Regions from separate parts of the Homo sapiens genome. Here all the other regions are linked to region 4. Evidence: promoter capture Hi-C in 16 types of primary human blood cells and fetal thymus (Javierre and others, 2016). All regions are on one chromosome and are shown on one strand. Each heading gives the region's core, a stretch centred on a gene start or on the middle of the fragment in contact. The rest is flanking DNA. Distances are from core to core; before and after follow the strand shown.

Evidence for each region. The method cuts DNA at HindIII sites, captures the fragments that hold promoters and counts their contacts. A CHiCAGO score of 5 or more calls a contact.
Region 1: a contact is called between a fragment that was not itself captured here and the fragment with the promoter of RNFT2 in region 4, in 1 of 17 cell types (naive CD4 T cells). The highest score is 7.7, in naive CD4 T cells.
Region 2: a contact is called between a fragment that was not itself captured here and the fragment with the promoter of RNFT2 in region 4, in 1 of 17 cell types (monocytes). The highest score is 5.8, in monocytes.
Region 3: a fragment that was not itself captured here is called in contact with the fragment with the promoter of RNFT2 in region 4 in 1 of 17 cell types (total CD4 T cells); the score reaches 5.2 in total CD4 T cells.
Region 5: a contact is called between a fragment that was not itself captured here and the fragment with the promoter of RNFT2 in region 4, in 1 of 17 cell types (monocytes). The highest score is 5.2, in monocytes.
Region 6: a fragment that was not itself captured here is called in contact with the fragment with the promoter of RNFT2 in region 4 in 1 of 17 cell types (monocytes); the score reaches 6.9 in monocytes.
Region 7: a contact is called between a fragment that was not itself captured here and the fragment with the promoter of RNFT2 in region 4, in 1 of 17 cell types (monocytes). The highest score is 5.5, in monocytes.

What each region holds. Positions count from the first base shown.
Region 1 is chr12:116,002,243-116,004,942 of GRCh38, forward strand. It overlaps MED13L (mediator complex subunit 13L), which reads right to left. Exons shown (of 31, transcript NM_015335.5): 14 at 761-860. Among named protein-coding and RNA genes, the nearest start is that of LINC02463, 120 kb to the left of the region's middle. The HindIII fragment of the contact is 782 bases long and covers 1,026-1,807 here.
Region 2 is chr12:115,955,951-115,958,650 of GRCh38, forward strand. It overlaps MED13L (mediator complex subunit 13L), which reads right to left. Exons shown (of 31, transcript NM_015335.5): 31 at 2,626-2,700. Among named protein-coding and RNA genes, the nearest start is that of LINC02463, 71 kb to the left of the region's middle. The HindIII fragment of the contact is 2,639 bases long and covers 1-2,622 here.
Region 3 is chr12:116,059,724-116,062,423 of GRCh38, forward strand. All of the region lies in intron 4 of MED13L (mediator complex subunit 13L), which reads right to left. Among named protein-coding and RNA genes, the nearest start is that of MIR620, 88 kb to the right of the region's middle. The HindIII fragment of the contact is 3,433 bases long and covers 1-2,700 here.
Region 4 is chr12:116,736,875-116,739,574 of GRCh38, forward strand. RNFT2 (ring finger protein, transmembrane 2) reads left to right here and starts at 1,441. Exons shown (of 11, transcript NM_001382266.1): 1 at 1,441-1,496. It overlaps SPRING1 (SREBF pathway regulator in golgi 1), which reads right to left and starts at 1,195. Exons shown (of 5, transcript NM_024738.4): 1 at 916-1,195. The coding sequence starts at 1,026. RefSeq lists enhancers at 1-695, 1,464-1,723 and silencers at 884-933, 1,014-1,273. The HindIII fragment of the contact is 21,202 bases long and covers 1-2,700 here.
Region 5 is chr12:116,091,059-116,093,758 of GRCh38, forward strand. All of the region lies in intron 4 of MED13L (mediator complex subunit 13L), which reads right to left. Among named protein-coding and RNA genes, the nearest start is that of MIR620, 56 kb to the right of the region's middle. The HindIII fragment of the contact is 1,641 bases long and covers 487-2,127 here.
Region 6 is chr12:115,984,512-115,987,211 of GRCh38, forward strand. MED13L (mediator complex subunit 13L) reads right to left here. Exons shown (of 31, transcript NM_015335.5): 18 at 2,598-2,700; 19 at 1,755-1,978. Among named protein-coding and RNA genes, the nearest start is that of LINC02463, 100 kb to the left of the region's middle. The HindIII fragment of the contact is 3,827 bases long and covers 1-2,700 here.
Region 7 is chr12:116,019,956-116,022,655 of GRCh38, forward strand. It overlaps MED13L (mediator complex subunit 13L), which reads right to left. Exons shown (of 31, transcript NM_015335.5): 5 at 2,501-2,646; 6 at 1-17. Among named protein-coding and RNA genes, the nearest start is that of MIR620, 130 kb to the right of the region's middle. The HindIII fragment of the contact is 1,700 bases long and covers 601-2,300 here.

The DNA.
Region 1 (2,700 bases), core at 167-2,666, 730 kb before region 4:
ATACTTCCCAACTTCTAGATTTGAGTAAATCAGCACTACATTTATAGGTTCATAAAGCTTTTTGACTCATCCCTATGACATGGTGGTTTTTCCCCTCAATTTGTTCTCATTACCAGCTGAAGTTAATGAGAAGGTGTTAAAGAATGATTTGCAATGGAATTATGTTTCTGCTTCAGAGTATCCACATAAGCTACCCTTTTTTTTCCTCTTGTAGAATAATTTGGTTTCTTAGGGCAAAGAATATACTCAAAAAAAAGAGGTTCATCTCTTTGTCAGCATATATGGTAAAACTAGTTGATCTCAAAAGGAAACACAAAAACTTTAGTATGCATCTTGAAAAGGACCACTGAAATCAAATATCCAATATCCTTGAGTGAATTATATTTATAAAAACAGAAACATTTTACACAGTCTTATAATAGAGTATCAGTTTGAAAAATCACTTGTGCAGCATTTATTCTACTAGGAAAGGACTATTAGAAAAACAAACCTAAAACATGTTTTTCTACATTTTAAGCTATAAAAAGCTAATTCTTAACTGGAAAACAAAGGAAAGGAATTCAAATTAAGATGGTTTCTGTATATGATTAGCTGCCTGCCATCTCAGAACACCAATTTATATAGGTTTTAATTCACAGTTAGAATTCTGTCAAAAGGAAGGGAAATTTCAGATAAAGATAAAGCACCACTAAGTATGAGAATATTATATCTAAGTTACAGGCAGTGAGCCACAATGGCTCAGTCAAGTTTCTCTACCTACTTGGTGGATAAGGAACAGCAGCTCTTCCATCCTTCCCAAGAGGTCGGTCTTCTGTCCCAACTGCAGGCATTTTTGATGAGCGCAGAGCAGGTGATACAGCCTAAGAACAGACGGTGTTATTAAAACAGAGTGACGTGTATATAAGTAGGGCAGCATTCAAATATTTCCTAATGTATGCCTATTGGTAGATGCCTCTTGGTAGAAGCGTTTACCAGGTGAACCTCTAGAAATACCAACAGATAGTGAAACAAAGGAGATGGTTACAAGCTTATCAAGTGTAAGAAACAGTGAATTTTTTTCATGGATCTTGTGAGGGCAGATTGCGCCATCAAAGGAGAGCTTGCAGACCTTAAGCAATTCTTCCCTCCCAAGTCAATTTTCAGGGACACAGTGTTACATTAGGGTGGTGCCTCCAGTAGTAACTGACAATTGGTCTGGTTTCCCTTATACTTGGAAGCAAGCAGCTAAAAGGCATAATCTCAAGCCCTCCAATTCTTTTTTTTTTTTTGCATTTATCACAACAAACTATGTATCTTCTGTACCTATTTTTATAGTTACTATTTATCTTCACCAAAAATAACCTTATTGTGTAAAATTATTGAAATATTCAGAAGGTTTTTCTCTGATCTGTTATTCAAAAACAAACCAAGTGCATTACTGGGCAAGATTATCTTTAACATTAAATGAACTGGTGATGAATTAAAATAAAATATAAAATAAAGCAAAAAATGATTTTTACAAATAGAAGGCCTTTTATTTATTTATACTTATACAATGTCACAACATTGAAATGTAAAATTAAAATTAAATTCAAAGACACATGAGATGACAACTCAGCCAACAGCCTCCCAACTCCATTTACGAGTAGTAAGATGAATTAGCAATATATTCTAAGGTAAACCGCTCATGTGATTAAATGCCAGACTAAAAATCAGAGTAAAGCAAAAACACTCAGAGAAATGAAAATTTGATTGAAAATGTCCAATTCTCCTTTTCATGTTAATATTACTAAAAGTATATTCCCAACAGTTAAACATTTCTTCATTAAGCTTAATAGTAATTCATAATTTATACAAAGAATAAGTTCAGTGGCCCAGAGCAGAAACAATTACCAGGATGGTGGTCATGAACAGATCAGGCAGGCCACTCCAAAATGCTTGCTCTGTTCCTTTCTTTCTCCTCCTTTGACTTGTACCTCCTTTTCTTTTCATATTGGATTCCCATCACCATTGCCAAAGCACCTATCCTAACCCTCTGTATCTTTAAAACCAAACCCAGGCAGCACTTGGCCTCCAGTGGATAGTCAAATTCAATGCCTGGATCAGCAATGAAGAAATGAGTCATTTCTTCTACCAGAGTTTTTCACATTTTCATGTCCTTTTCCTTCATGTGGCCACTGTATAAATTCAGATTCTAGTGTTCCAATCCAACAAAAGTTACCAGATTAGAGGATTCCTGCTTTCGGCATATCAGACTGGAAAAAAAAATAGCCCTTCTGCCAGTTCAGTTCTATACTCAGCAGCCCTCAGAGGAACACATATTAGTACAGTTTAAAATCCAAAACTTTCCTAGACCTATCAGTCTCTAATCATCCAAAAAAACAGACCAATGGTCTGTTCCTTATCCCTGAAAGCTAATCTAGTTCGTTTTTGTTGTTTAATCAAGGCTCATTCCACACTTAAACTAATGTCCCTCCCCCTTCCTCTCAATGACCCCTTCTTTCCATATTTCAAGTACAATCCATTCTTCCAGACCATTATGATCTCCTCATCTTCTAAGTACTTATAACAGTAATGGTATATAATATCTGTTAGATACATTTTATTTTAAAGTTTGGGCTTTAGAAATGTTTCCTACTTAACTTTCAAGCCTTAACTTAAACACTGCTCCCCATCACTTGGTCACGTCGTATCTGAATGTCCAGCAACTTTAGATTCAGG
Region 2 (2,700 bases), core at 53-2,552, 780 kb before region 4:
AGAAATAGCAACAACAAAAAACACTGGTGTATGTATAATTACAGAAACTGTGTCTCCTCTACAATTAAAAAAAAAATCACATACTTCAAAGGAAGCAGACAGGAAATTATATATGTAAATAATGTATCGAAATTAATAAGAACATCAAGACCTCTAAGTGAACAAACTAAGATTTATGAGAAGCTAACGTGAAAATGCTTACTGAAAAACGTTATAGCCTAAATTAAGACAATTACTATTTTACATGTTAAATTATTTAAATTGACATTCCCCCACAACGAATACTTCCTCGTATTAGATATTTTTTTTCCCAGAGCTTCTGTTCTAAGCTCTGGGGTGGCCCATTTTACTGAATATTGTCTAGTCTTATAAAACAAGTAGATTGAAACATGCCTCACCCAACAGCAAGGCAAAAGAGGTATACACTAGGCAGCAGGAGCCAGAGAAATGCTCAGAGATGCTGCCAATTTCAACGTGTCTGCATGCTGTGATCACTGGGTGAATTTCAAGCACACTCCAGGACAGACATGGTTTGACCCATATGGGTAACAGCCCAGACAAGTGCCATGTTAGCAGATTATTAAAACTGAACCTGTGCTTTCCTCACTTCCCTGCTTGTTTGAAAGAAAACAAAGAAAAAGTGGGACTAACAGGAATGTCTGTCTTCGGGTCTTCCCATCACCTGGGAACTTGAATTCATTGAGGAAATAGCCTTTACAGAGAAAAATCAATACTTTGGTTATGTCCAACCTTCTTCCTGGAGATTAAACTTTCTCATCAACTTCTATTTCTTAACTGCTTCATGATTTAGCGTTCTAGCTAGAAGCAGTTAAGTGTCAAAAAATCTTTTTTAAACGTGACCCTGGAATTGTAAGCAAAGTGGAGGAAGACTGGTAAATCTGGTTCCAGGCAGAGCAGGATGCCCAGGGCAAACATTACAACCCTCTATAATTACCTGGCACAACAGAATTTTCTAGTGGTGTCTCATTAGGTATTAATGACATGAAATAATTACTGCTAAAGTGACCTTTTTGTCAAGGGAATATAAACAAGAGAATCGTTTAACACCAAAATAACACGGTAATAAGTGAAAATTGCATCTTGATAGGATTTGGGCGTGCGGTGAATTCCAAAGCACGATTTCCTTTTTATACTGGCTTGACTGTAAATGACAAGCGGCAAAGACTGTTTTCAATATGTGGCTTATGCTTCTGCAGTATGTCTTACGAGGTTTGCTTTTAAAAACTCATTGACGAACTGTACTTTTATAAAGATTTTTAGTGGTTCTTTGATGCCCAGTTGGTAACAAATACCTTTGCTCATGACTTCCTGAACAGTAAAACCAAAAACTACATAATCACATGGTTGGAGGGAATGAACTGGTGTGAAGAGCAGAATCTGGGTGATGCAAACTGCTGAAGGCTGATGGCTTATCTACATCTAACTTGGAAGACATTTAAATGCATTCATTTATCCTACCTCAAAGAGATTTAGCTGCGGTTGCTGAATTGGTACAGGTGGGGGCACTTATGAAAATGACATTCCTACTATAAAGCCAACACTAATTGTTGAATATAGTACCACCCAACGTATGAGCTAAGCATTGAAGCTACTGAATGCTTGTAAAAGTACCTCCTAGTTCTGATTATTTAGCTGCTGCAGGACTATATAAAAGTTATATATGTAAGGCAGTAACTGGATGAGATCACTATTATTTTTTAACCAAAAAGTTGGCCTCACTTTTCTCAGTCTTTCTTCAACAGTGCAGCTGTAACATGGATACAAGCCTTTTAGTTTGCAAAGCATTTCTCATGCAATCATCCTCATCCCTCATTTGCAGATGAAGTAACAGAAGGTTGAGTTGTCTCAATAGCTTTATCTCTGGATTCTGATAATGTTAGGTTCAGAACAACGTATATTTCTAAAATGATGAAGGCAGATTAAAAGCAAGGCCTTTCCAATTATTCAAATGTTTATTGTAAGCTCTGCCAAGTCCTGGGGTTTAACCATTTTTAATGAGAGATTTTGCAAGGGCAGTATACGAAATATACCCTCGCAACTCCTGCTAGAACATGTGGCTTTTCCTAGCTGATGGACCCAAGAAGGGAACAGCATGGTAGATGGTGTGCAGCCAACAGGGACTTGCGTGTGGTGTATCAGATGCCAAACTCCCGTCACCAGCCTGTGAATCAGGAAAACAGCAGAGAGAGATGTATCTGTCATTTCTAAGAGACATCATAAAGAAACTGGCTGAGACTGTGTAGAGAAAGGCGGTGGAATATAAGATACAGACTTGTCATTTGTGCTAGAATTGACCACAATCTTACAGCTGAGAGACACCATTAGAGCTCATCGACTCACAGCAGTTGATTCGGTGTTGTGTGTGTTAGCATGTAAAAACTGATGGGGGAGTGTACTTGTGCCCTGGAGCATGAGAATACCATTTCAGAACAGCTGTTAGGGGGGTGATCAGGGTGGTAAAATTCTACATCCATTGCACTGACTGGAAGGTAGAGGCCTGGCTACTAATCTAGGGCTATTCAATACATATACATGCACCTCTCAAACAGGTGTAGATAATTTTATACAAAGGCAGGAGAGGAAGGGAAAAAAGCCACTCAAAGCTTCAGTAATTCAATAATTTATTCCTCTAAAAAAGTGTGTAAAAGTATATAGCTCTCATCCACAAGGTATATATGA
Region 3 (2,700 bases), core at 113-2,612, 680 kb before region 4:
ATTCTTTTACACTGTAAAAGTATTTTATGCTTTTAAATATATTTTTAAATACATATGCTTTTAGATAAATTATTAAATTTAATTAATATTTGAAGAATGATGGAAAAGAAAAATGGATTAAGAGTAAAAAACATAAAGGAGGCACGGAGAAAAAGGCTTTAAATTATTATTTAAATCTGATGTATACACTATTACTTTTTACATAATACAAACTGAAATATACAAGAAACAAAACAAATCACTGTGATATAGAACCCCTTAAAGAAAACGCTTGGAAAATCTTTGTCTTTTCTACACTGCAGGGCAAAAAAACCCTCTAATACTAGAGGTGCAGTATGCAGTTTCACTGCTGGACTGTGTACACTGTGAGAGGAATGCAAACTAAGCGCAAGATTGCTCCTGGAGGGATCACAAAACACTGCCCAGGACACTCTCATCATTCTGTGGGCCTGGAGCATTCTCTGGATCATTAAAACTGTCTCAAGTAGTTGCCACTCTATTCGAATTAGACACATTTCTAATAAGCCTCAAATTAAAAAAAAAAAGTTAATTTTGAAAAATTCACAAAAACAGGCCGGGCGTGGTAACTCACGCCGGTAATACTATCACTTTGGGAGGCTGAGGCAGGCAGATCACTTGAGGTCAGGAGTTTGAGACCAGCCTGGGCAACACGGTAAAACCCCGTCTCTATTAACATACAAAAAATTAGCCGGGCACTGTGGCGGGTGCCTGTAGTCCCAGCTACTCGGGAGGCTGAGGCAGGAATATTGCTTGAACCCAGGAGGTGGAGGTTGTAGTGAGCCGAGATCATGCCACTGAACTCTCCAGCCTGGGCGACAGAGCAAGACTCCAAGGGAAAAAAAAAAAAAAAACTAAAAATTTGCAAAAGACAATATAAAGACAATGATTCTGTACACTTTTTTCACATTACAATTAACTGAAAGTACTACTTTGGGTTAAAAACAGTATTAAAAATTGGAGAAATATTTTAAGGTCTCAGATGTTAAGAGCAACAGTATGTATGCCAATTGTTAGACTGTATTGTGGAAGGAAATTTTAGGTTCAACTATTATCTTAAGCACACACACACACGAGATACTTGCTTTACGGAGCTTTGACTTTTGCTAAATTAATTCACTAAAGATAAATGGAAGTGAAAGCAATGAGATGAGAAGGAAGTTATGACACATACATGGCATCATCTTTAAAATGAGAAACTGAAAGCTCAAGATGATGGCATGTGGGCATATGTGTCTTCTTTTATTTTCTATCTCCTGCCTTCTTCTCCTCCCATCTCTGAGACTCCACTCATGCCAATAAACAAGCTGATCATTAAGTTAAATGCTTCTATATGAGGTCTCAGGAAACTAACTTAGTAAGACTATAGATTACTTTTCTCATCTTTAACTGAGAACATTCTAAGTTATTTTAAAGCAACTGGGTGGGTAGAGGACAAGATTTAACTTTCTTTTTTAAGTCATGAGACTCGTTTATTTTCACAGCTAAACATTAACTGTTTTTTTTAATTCCATATTATAAAATTGTTGTATTTAAATCCAGATGCATTTTTATTTTTAAATATAGAGTAGTTACAAATAATATGTATCTTTTATTTTTAAGGTATACAATAAATTCTCAATTTCTCAACACTAGGAAAGGCAATGTCAGAGGGTTATACAATTAGGCAGAACTGAGTTTACATCTTACCTATTATAAGCTGCCTTAAGTCAATTAACTTCTCGGTATTTCAGTTTTCAATGCTACAAAGTAAGATAATAATGCCTACCTCATAGATATATAAACATAAAATAAGATAAAATAAGTGATAACCTTCAGGACATGATAGTTACTAAAATTAAGTACAGTCTCCACCACAAATCAGAATGAAATCATCCCTTCATCAATGCGCATCCCAAATTACCTAATGTGAGTTTGGGAATAGATTTTAAATTTTACAGTTCAAATAAGCATGTTACAAAACATATCAGAAAGGAAAATTCAAGGCCAGGCGTAGTGGCTCACGCCTGTAATCTCAGCACTTTGGGAGGCCGAGGCAGGCTGATCATGAGGTCAGGAGATCGAGACCATCCTGGCTAACACAGTGAAACCACATCTCTACTTAAAAATACAAAAAATTAGCCAGGCATGGTGGCGGGCACCTGTAGTCCCAGCTACTCAGGAGGCTGAGGCAGGAGAATGGCGTGAACCCGGGAGGCAGAGCTTGCAGTGAGCCGAGATCACACCGCTGCACTCCAGCCTGGGAGACAGAGCAAGACTCCACATCGAAAAAAAAAAAAAAAAAAGGAAGGAAAATTCTATCCGAAATCCAAATTATGAACTATTACAGTCACATGCTAACATTAATACCTTGAATCAATTCTCTTCTATTGATTTTCTTTTTTCTGGGTATGGTGGTGCATGCCTGTAGTGCAGTTTTTTGTTTTTTTGAGATGGGATTTTGCTCTGACACCCAGGCTGGAGTGCAGTGGAGCAATCTCAGCTCACTGCAACCTCCACCTCCCAGGCTCAAGTGATCCTTCCACCTCAACCTACAGAGTAGCTGGGACCATAGGCATGAATCACCAAGACCAGCTAATATTTTGTATTTTTGGTAGAGACAGTGTTTCACCATGTTGGCCAGGCTTGTCTCGAACACCTGAGCTCAAGCAATCTGCCCACCTCAACCTCCCTCTATTGGTT
Region 4 (2,700 bases), core at 191-2,690:
AACTGTGGGTCCTTTTGAGTCACCCAGGAGGACACAGAGCCCCCAAATTAAACGAAGGGCACCCATGCGAGGGCTGGCCGACCCTCGCCACCTATGTCTTGGTTTCCCCCACTGTAATACTGGGAACCCCACTTCTCCCAGGCCTGCTGCGAAGATGAAGCCAGCAAATGCACGCCCTCTCTTAGCTCTGGACCGGGCAGGTGAAAAGCAGGGAGGTGTTCATAAAAGCAGTCCCCACCGCTGAAGGGTCCTCAACTCGGGGTTCTAGTCCCAGCTCTGCCCTGGCCTAGCAACCCCTTCCCGCTGCAGGGACCAAGGCGGTGGGCAGGTCCCTCACCCGTGCTGAGACCGGGACAGGAATGCGCACCTCTCCCCACCCTCGGACGCCCCGGCGGCGCCGCTGCAGAAGTCGGGAGGTCGGACAAACGCGAGGAGTAAGGAAAAAGAGGAGGAAGGGAAGGAAGGAGGAAGAACGAAGTGAGGAAAGAGGATGTCAGGGAAGAAAGGGAGTAAAGGAAGAAGGAAGGGAGAGGGGGACAGAAAGGAGGAGGACGGAAGGAGGAAGGGAAGGAAGAAAGACGGAAGGGAAGGGAGAGGAAAAAGGGGAGGAAAGAAGAAAGGGAAGGGGGAGGAAGGAAAGGGGGAGGAAGGAAGGAGGAGGAAGGTGAGGAAGGTAAGGAAGGAAGGGAGGCAGGGAGAGGGGAAGGAAGGAGGAAGATAAGGAAGGAGGGGAGGTAGGAAGAAGGGAAGGAAGGAGGAAGGAAGGGAAGGGGAGAAAGAAAGGAAGGGAAGGGGTAGGAAGACAGGGAGGAAGGAAAAAAGGAGGAAGGTAACGAAGGAAGGAAGGAGAAAGTAAAGTAAGGGGGAGGAAGGAAGGAAGAAGGGAAGGGGAGGAGGGGAAGGGCGGCCACTGACCTGCTTGAAGGTGCTGCTGAGGAAGTAGACGAGCGACAGCCCGAAGACCAGGGCGAGCACCCACCTCTTCCGCAGAAGCCGGCGCCACACCATGGCCGCCAGGTTCACCATCCCGGCGCGGACGTGGGGCGCGGCGGCCGGGGCGCGGAACGCGGCAGGCCCGGGTCCCGGGCGGCATGGCCCCTACGCGCCCGGCAGCCCCATCCCTCCAGGCAGGCGCCGGCCCCGCCGCCCGCAGCCCAGTCTGCTCCCGGCAGCCTTGGGCGCAGCCCCACGTGACCCCGCCCTACGCCCCGCCTCCGCTCCGCAGCGACAAGGGCTAGTCGCGCAAGATCTTCTCACCATTGGTCCCTAAGGAACGGCGGCCTCCTATTGGTTAAGTGCCGGGAAAGGGGGCGGACAATCGCGTGAGTGCTGCGGGCGTAGCTGTGCCCGGGTCCTAGCGCCGGACCCGGCGACGCCAAGAAACCACCCAATAGGAGGCCGGAAGCATCGGAAGTCACATGCTGCCCAGGCTGCGCGGGTGATTGGCTTGGCTGGACCTGAATGATGCGGCTGTGATTGCTGAATTGTCTGGGCAGGTAAAAAGAGAACGCGATTTTTTTTTCTTTTCTCCCATCATGGTCTGTGTAGTCTCCTGCCCTTGCAGTCCCAGAGCGTTTTGCGCTGTGTGTTGGTTGCAGGGATGAAAAGCGCTCGCGACGTTGTTCCCGAAGTGCACCTGCCGGCTTCCAGTCCAAGTGATGCAGGCGATGCTCCTCTGAGTGCATTTCGGTGCAGTCCTGTAACGGGCCCCAGGGGCGCAACTTGAACCATCGCAAGCATCGAAAAGTCTCGGTGCGGTCCTTCAAAGGGACATAGTGGGATGTACAGAGCAGAGGATTAAAAAGCGTTTCATTCATTCAGATGCATCCCGCGTGCAAAAATTTATTCCAGAATTATGTACGGCCTGCTTCCGACAAAGAATCCGAAGCCTCTTCCAATACAAGCATCCGAAAGTAGAGTTTCGAGCATTCGATTTAGGAGTTAAATGTGTGGATGAGAACTTTGGAATATGAATTTTATTTTCCCCCAAGGATTTGCAATGTGGGATAATGGAGGGAGGGGCGAGAGGAGGATTAAGTTGAGATTGCAAATTCTTGAAAAATATTTATATAATGACCTTTTCTTGATATATGAAGATGCTGCTGCTGACCGGTTTGTTACCTAATTTTTCAAAAGAGAAAGGAGGCTTCACTGGCGGGTCATTTTTAATCAGTGGCCCTAGTGACACCATTGCTGCCCCCTCAAGAAGCCTGGTCAGGATTAGGAAGTCATTCAACAGCCAATAATCGTGCCCTAAACTGAAGTCAGACACCATCTGACTGATATAGACACCCTATATCCACAATATTGGCTCTGCCTCCAGAGACAAGAAGATATTCACGGAGGCTAAACCTTTTCATGGGAAGTAGATGGCCCTTATTACCTTGCTAGGGTGAAAGGTGGGACAGGGAGCAAGGGATCTAGAAAAGGGGAACTGGGAGACCCATAGATGTTTTATTCATTGAGTAAATACTTGTTGAGCGCCACTCTGTGCCAAACAGTGTCCTGGATGCTGAGGCAGAGGGGTGATCCAAGTAGACAGGATCCCTACTTTCAGGAATGGCATTTATATTCTAATGGGGAGGACAAATCATAAATAAATAAGCAAACATGAACAAATAAGTGCTATGAATAATATAAAACAGGGCAATATTACGGGGAGTCAGGAGAATGAGAAGAGAAGGCCTCTGGGAAGAGACG
Region 5 (2,700 bases), core at 57-2,556, 650 kb before region 4:
TGCAGTGAGCTGACATCGCACCTGTGCACTCCAGCCTGGGTGACAGAGCGGAACTCTGTCTCAAAAAAAAAAAAAAAAAAAAAGAATTAAAAAACAAGGTATATCTTTTACTATAAAAAAGAATTTAAAAAACAAGGTATCTCTTTTACTATAAGGTATTTTCAATCCTTCTTGAAAATAGCACATATTTAAATATATTTTACTTTAAAGTGTAAAAATCAATAATTATTGTTGACATATACTGTTTAGACCACTAATAGCACAAATGAAAAATAAAAACTAACAGTCATAACTTCTTTTAAGTTATTAAGAAAAAAAGGAAAAACTAGAAGAGTTGGATAGAAAGCAAATACTGTATTTAACTATCATCACCTCTGGCTGAAGTGGTCTTTCAATTTAACATTCCCCTATATATGTTTATGAAACTACAGAGCAAAGTACCTGGTACACGAAAGATACTTTTTAAAATTATAGCTACCACTATTAAGCTTTATCACAAGCCCTTATTAAGTGTTTGTCTGCTCCCTTCCTGGAATCAACAGTTTTGTGTTTTGCAGCTACTTGTAAAAACTACTGCAAAAGCTCTACATTCAGTATCTTCACTTCAACTCCCATTTATAATGCAAGCTACTGCAATCTGAATTTCACCACTTGAAACTGCCAATGTTATAGTCACCATGACTACATAATTGCCAAATCTAATAGTCTTTATAGTACATGTTTTACATGCCTCTATGGCAGACACAGCTGATCAATCTTGAAACTTTAAAATTCCATGGTTCTGGTAACACCAGTCTCTCTTGGTTCTCATTTCCAGTTGACTCTTCAGTCTCCTTTATGTATTCTTGTTTCTGTACCCATTCTACAAATGTTGATGATCCCCAAGACTCTAACTCACTTTTCACACAATCCCCAAATATATTCAAATGGCAGAATACTGTAACTCCCTCAGATAGACTCTCAGAAAATGAGTAAATGTTTTATAGAGCTACCAAAAAAAAGCTGTAAAACTATTATGCATGATTATGTAAGTCCAAATTGTCCCATTAATATTTGTCTATGGACTTCCCATCAGCAAGCCCTTATTAACAGATAGGCACCACATGTGCAAAGTAAATTTATGAGTAAAACAGAAAAAATCATAGATAGCTACTGATCTCATTTTTCTGGACACTAAAAAGAGGCTTGCTTTACCGTTCACACTTGAAGTGTCTGCTCACCTTCTAGACTAGGGATCCCTTCTCCGCCTTCTTATCTGGGCATCTCTAAAAGCTAAATAACACAGATGACTGGGCTATAACAGAGTCTGGGGAAAAAGAGGAGGATGGAGAGAAGGCGTACCACTCAAGAACAGGGCAGGTTTGCCCATGAGTCAGTGATAGCTAATTAATTCAGAAAATGGAATAGCAGGTTGTTATCTTTGAGGAGATAAAGGGGAGGGGAGGATGAAATAAGGAAAGGAAGGGAAAGTTTCAAAATACTAAATATGGTTCTCCTACATCAAAACATTTCTGGTATGAGTTAATAATGTATTGTTACACAAAATACACGCTTTGCTATTAAACCAAAAAACGTATTTACATTTCTTAAATATGTATGTTAGGTAATCTAAGAAAATAAAAAAGAAGTTTTAAAAAGTCTGAAGTTAAGAGGAGAGAAGACAAAAACGATAGTTAAAGTAATATACTTTCAGTGTGTATGGGTATATGTGTGGTGGGGGGGGTGTGTGCACATGTGCTATCAGCACATACAAAAGTAATTAGAATATCTGAAAACATGTGATGCTCTCTGGAGTATCACCCAAGAACAGAGTAGATTTGCCCAAGAGTCAGTGACAGCAAATTAACCCAGAAAATGAATTAGCAAGTTACTATTTTTGTTAACTTAGCTTCTGTATACCTGATACCAGAAAAGATCAAAGGCCCACTGTTATTGAGGGCAATAAACTGTTTCCTAAAAATGACATTCAAAGACTAAAGTGTATAGATTTCAAATTCTCCTGTAATAAAATGTGGATTGAGATTAAATTAGAAAACAAATGCCTTCCCAAGAGAGAGAACCTGCATGATTGGAATAATTTCCAAATGATTTTCACCGGTTTGTTTTAAAACATATTCTGAATGCAAAAGCTTTTTTTCAAGTTCAACCTAGACCTTAGAAAACAGAAATTTTGTATGTTTGATTTTAGTTGTCACCACTCAAGGGCAAACCCAAAGTTGTATTTTCTACTTATTCTTTTCCCAAGGATATGAATAATAAAAGATGTCAATATAGAGAAAAAATTATATTGAATGAATTTCTATGTTTCTAAAACTACCTAATCAAATACATATTTTTAATATATAATATGCAAATAATCTACTTTAGAATTCTCCTGAACATCAACTCATATCAAATATTAAGAACCCTTTTAGGAGTCCATTAGTAAATGAAATCATAGCACAAGAACTTTAAAGGAGTACAGAAAGAAATTATAGCACAAAAAATCATATGCTATTATTCTAACAGGGAGAACTCATTCATCAGTATTTTTTCACCATGATTAGAATATCTAAAATATGCAGTATGAGAAATTAGTAATACTAATAATCAGTAATGCTAGTAATCCTAGCATATACTATCTATATGCTAAGATTATAGATATTATATATAGATACTATATGCTAGTATTACACTATACTTAGAAATAAGAGCTTTTCT
Region 6 (2,700 bases), core at 32-2,531, 750 kb before region 4:
AACATTACAAGTTGGTCCTTTCAGGTAATTGTAATGTACCCTTAAATTGCTATCTGTCTCTCTAAAACTTGGACTAGGCTCTCTAAAAAAAAAAATGTTTCTTCACTCAAGCCAATTCCTCCTGTACAAGAGGAGGCTGCTGAACACTACCTGATTGCTAACGGACAAAGAATTAGCAGATTCCTGCCTACTGTTGCTAACTGAGACATATGCCCACTAAAATCTCCTAAGTAATCCCTACTCATAATATTTTCCCATAAGATAACATTAAAATTTTATGGGCCATCTGTTCTGTTACAGACATTTGGAGATCACCAATAGCAGGGGCCACTGAAGCAGTGAGTATGCTGATCGCCTTTTTTTTTTTTAAAGTAAATAGGACAAGGAGATTCTGCTATTAATCTCCATGACGCTAAATGGGTGCTTATGGCAGGGAATATAATAAACCTGCAAAAAGTAAACTACCTGTTCACCAGCAGGAGAGCCCGTATTATTATCCCTTACTAGAGTAGATGAAGTGAAGGCTTACTAAGCCCCGACAAAATCCTCTAGTGTATACTCTTCCTAAGGAGGTATCAATTACTGCCGAATAAGCAACCCTAGTGAAGTCATTAAGAAAAATTTAAAAGAGTGTCTGTCTGTACCCTCTTAAAAAGATCTGGCAGTGCTTTTTACATTTTGTAACTTATGTTGAAGGTTCCATTCAAGGAAATGGCTGGGCTTTAAAACTGCTTACACAAATTTTCTGTTAATTATGATTTAATAGTATTATATATGCCCTGACCAGACACTGTTCAGAAATGAATGTATCCAAGGCAGTGACTTAATTGATGTCATTACATCATGTTAGCATCTCCTCATTTCTTTGTAGCAACAACGTAAATTTACTATTCCGTGCCTACTCATACATTTATAGATCATGAATGTCCTGTTTTGGAATATTTTGCAATTCAGCTTGGAATCTTATTTAAAAACCACTTTCATAATGTTTACATGCCTATCATAGTACTAAATATTTTACAGATATTAATTTCATTTTGCTGAATACAAAGACATTAGATGTATCAGATACAAAGAACTTAGTGCATATATACTTTGGCATAAGAAATGTGGCACTTATTCTTCAAAGACAGACATGATTCTATTTTTTTTAAAGCAACAGGAATTCATATACTAAAGATGTAAAATTATCTGCCTGGTTTTTACATTATTATAGGAATTATATTTTTAATCAGTATCAAAGTTTCAGTATTAAGATGTCATGTTAAAACACAACAGGGACATTATTCATTAAACTTATGTTTCAATTCAGAAATTTGCAAAAGACACATTTTTACACTGTTGTCAGGAACTCTCACCTACTCACCCTGTCCCTCAATCCATCCAGTAAATAAATACAAAGAGTAGATGTGCTCTTTTGGTAAAGCTCATCTTCTACATAGCCACACTTTCCCCTGGTGAGCAATATTCTTCAACTTTTAGCACATAAATGGAGAAGAGAGAACTGATGGGATTTTAAGACGTGTGGTAAGAATGGGAGGGGAACGTTTTCTAAATCTAACAAATATAAAGCAAAGATGGGAAAGCAATTTGCTTCCAGAAAAATTGGCCAATTCAATTCTCTTCTTCATCCACCTGTTTGCAAATTTTCTCTGAGATTTACTTTCAAGACATTTGTCTTGAAATTTAGTCATCACTATAAACAATCAGAGGATCCAAGTCATAAAAAGCAATTTTCACAGTAACTTCCTCACCTCGTATACAGCACTCAAGTCCCTGAAGAAAGTTTTGGCTCCTTCGAGCAAGGCCTCATTTTCTGGACACACCACAATATAGGCAACATCACGGTGGCCCCCATATGGGTCCAACAAGAGCCTCTCCCAAAACGGCAAGGAGAATGGCGAGATGGTGAGGAAATCCTTGTCATAGCCTACCAGCAGAGTGGGGATGGGCAACGGCTCAGGAGATTCTTCCGAACCTAAAATGACATTGTAGTGTAGAAAGGTGCTAGAGAGTTTTTCCCACAACCTTACAATTTTGAAATTCCTGGTGCACTGGTCTTAATTCTGGCATCTGAAATGTCACTCCATGTTCACAAGACATTCTTAAAAGTATTTTTGAAATCATCTAATTAAATGGTCACTGATGAGGACTCTTAATTAAGTAAGTCAGAATTTGTTTATAAAGGTTCAGTAAGATCAGAGGGCAGACTAGAACAAGTTAAAATTAACTTTCCAAGCAGCACTACATCATTTCCTTCAAGATAAGCATTATGATTCTGACTATGATGAAGTAGACAGAACTGGCCCAGAAGTCCATCCAGATGAAAATGCAGTGAGGATTGGGAAAATGAGGAGAATCTAAAAAATGCACTTTTTAGGGATTAGCTTCCTCACTGACCTGGATTATGCCAAGGGTGGTAGGAAACTTGACTCCAAAAGTAACTTTAGGAAAACAAAGAGATTATAAAACTAAATGGTCAAAGAAAAAGACTCCCCTATTTTGTTAGTGACGCAAGGACTTGACAGTAACTAACGCTGCTCTTCACTGAACAGCACTGAAGTCAGAAGGAATTTTAAACAGGACAAAGACCCTACCGTAGGTTCCCCGTCCTGCCATTTTATGGAACTGCTGCCAAGTGAGTGGTCCCTGCACATGCTGGATGTTCTCCCAGGTCCTGCCCGTGCGCTTCTTTTGGAT
Region 7 (2,700 bases), core at 201-2,700, 720 kb before region 4:
ATAAGGACTTACCAGTACTATGGAGGGGAGGAGAAATACATGCTAAACATTAGAGAAATAATTCCTACTTAAGTGCAACACTACATATGTGGTAATTTTAGGTTACAGTATCACTTAATGTGCATTGTTCTTTATTTCCTAACTCTATTTAAAGTATGATTTAAAAGAAATTTTTTTAAAAATTATTTTTGTAGAGACTGGGTCTCACTATGTTGCTCAGGCTGGTCTTGAACTCCCAGGCTCAAGTGATGCTCCCGCCTTAGCCACAAAAGTATGATATTTTGAAGTTTCTTGTTTTAAAATTTCTTATTATTTATACACCTCTCACCTCCCACAATTTTTAAACGAAATAAAATATGGATAGTACAATGTTATCAGACAGCTATGCTTTGAAGCATATACATATCTGTTTAATAATAGCCTGTACAATGTAAACACTGACTCTCTCAAAACAGAAGAAAATCATTCAACATGGAGACCGCAAATGCTGCCTAAAACTTGAACACTCTTGTGGTTCCTGAGACTCCCTAAACATCTGTGGTAATCAAAGAATAACATATAAATGAAATTTCTAACAGTGGGAAAGTTTTAATGTACAAAAGCTTGAAGCATAATAGTTATCGTTTCTGTTTTGACTGTTTTAGAGGTCTGTTGATAAAACAACTCTAAGTAAAATTTGATTTAACTCAAAGTAAAGGACCCAAAGTCCTCTATCTTCTTTCAGTATTTGACCTTGATGGCATTTTCACTGAGTCAGACACAAAAATATAGTTAATATAGTACTGTGAATTACCCAGCCAGTTCATAGCCTTGAAGTGAGTACTTCAATCTTCCAAATAATACGTTTCTGAAGATAAAGGCCACTTTTTCTTAATTCTAATTTTTAACAAAAACTCAGCATGGTCATTAAACGGAATGTCTTTTTTTTAATTTTTTTAAAGAGCTAGATCATATGTCACATCAATCAAGAGAGAGACAGTTATAGACATCACATGTATCGTTGAGTCTTTCTGCTGTTCCTCAATGATCCAAATGGGATAAAAATACTGACTCCAACTAACACAGTTAATCAAGGGTAATTTTTTTGCAATAATGCTTCCAGGAAATTCCCACATCAATTTGGATAATTATGATGAATATAATTATCCATAAGGACAGCAACTGCCTTAGTATGGTCTTCCTCCACACCAATCATGGAAAATAAGCAGAATAATGCTCCACAAAAGTATTCTATGACTTCCATCAGTGACAAAAATCAGAAAAATTAAAAGTGGTCTATAGGGACCTGGTATTCCTAATATTATTGTTCCCAACATTGAAGATTAGAAATAAGTTCTCTTCCCTCATGACTACTTATTCCTCTGTTATTACCATAACTAAATGCTTTTATTCTGAGTGATAAAATGTTGGATGGAGTCAGATGGTCCTCAGCACTTTTACACTCAAGAAAACAGTATTTTAAAAATTCTGATAAGCCATAATTTGCAAATACTGTACAATTTGTACTGTACAGTTTAAGAATTGGGTTTTGAATTTTCTAGTAGTTTTATTATATTTGGGGCAAGAAACAGATGCTTTCATTGAATTAAATCAGAATAGTTTATAGAAAACAAAAAATAAATACAATGGAGGCTAAATGCTCATGACAGGCTTTTACAGCAATTATAATATTTTAGTCAAGTCTGTTAAAATATCAGTGTTTTTTAAAATTATATTGTGTGATATGCTAAGACTATTTCAACCAGTCATCTCTAATAATGACATATTAGACTGAACCAAAAAAAGATTGTTTCCATACGGTTCAATCTAATATTATAACATTTAAAAGCTGTTACTCACAGAAAATTCTGAATTCCAAAGACAAAACTAAGATTTGTAATGCTCAGATCAAAAGGACATGAAGTTATTTTGGTGATATATAGGTGGTAAAGCTGAGAATTAATGAAAATATGAATGTATCAATTACATTTAAATTACAGCTAAATACCTATTACCAATGGAGTTTAAAATTAAAACAAAGTTAGGAACATCGCTGAAGAAACTATACACTGTATAATTCTAGAACTTTGATTCTGATAGAAATTTCAAATACTAAGTATTTGGTTTATCTTCTATAAACCATTACATTCCTAAAACCTTGTTAATAAACACAACAATGAAAACCTTTAATTTGTGACTTTGGTCAATTACTCATTGAATTCTATTTTTCAAGTATTTATTGATTTTCTTTTGTTCTGAAGGAAATTCTACATTTTATTCTTACAAAAGAATACACATAAGACCATCTTATATATGCGATAAGCTTCAGCGAAAAACTAACACACTATTACTACTTAATTATGAAATGGTAGTCTTTTCTTCCTTCTTCAAAATCTGACCCTTATGCTTAGCTTTAAAATGTCCATTTAAGATAAGGTCTCACCCTGCAAAACTTTACTGGGCAAGATGGTTATCCACTCGGTGGCGGATAGGGGTGGAGAGCAGGAACACCCATACTTACCTTGAAATGGTGCAGGTGAAGACTGAGCCATGTGTATATGCTCCTCATTGATCAAATAAATTGGCTGGTGCTGGGCAATCTCCACACTTGTGCATACATTACTTTCTCCATGCAGAAAGAATGTGAAAGCACAGGACAAATGCTCACTACAAAAGAGAGAATGAGAAACTCAACTTTATATTTTGGTAGGAAAGGGTGCT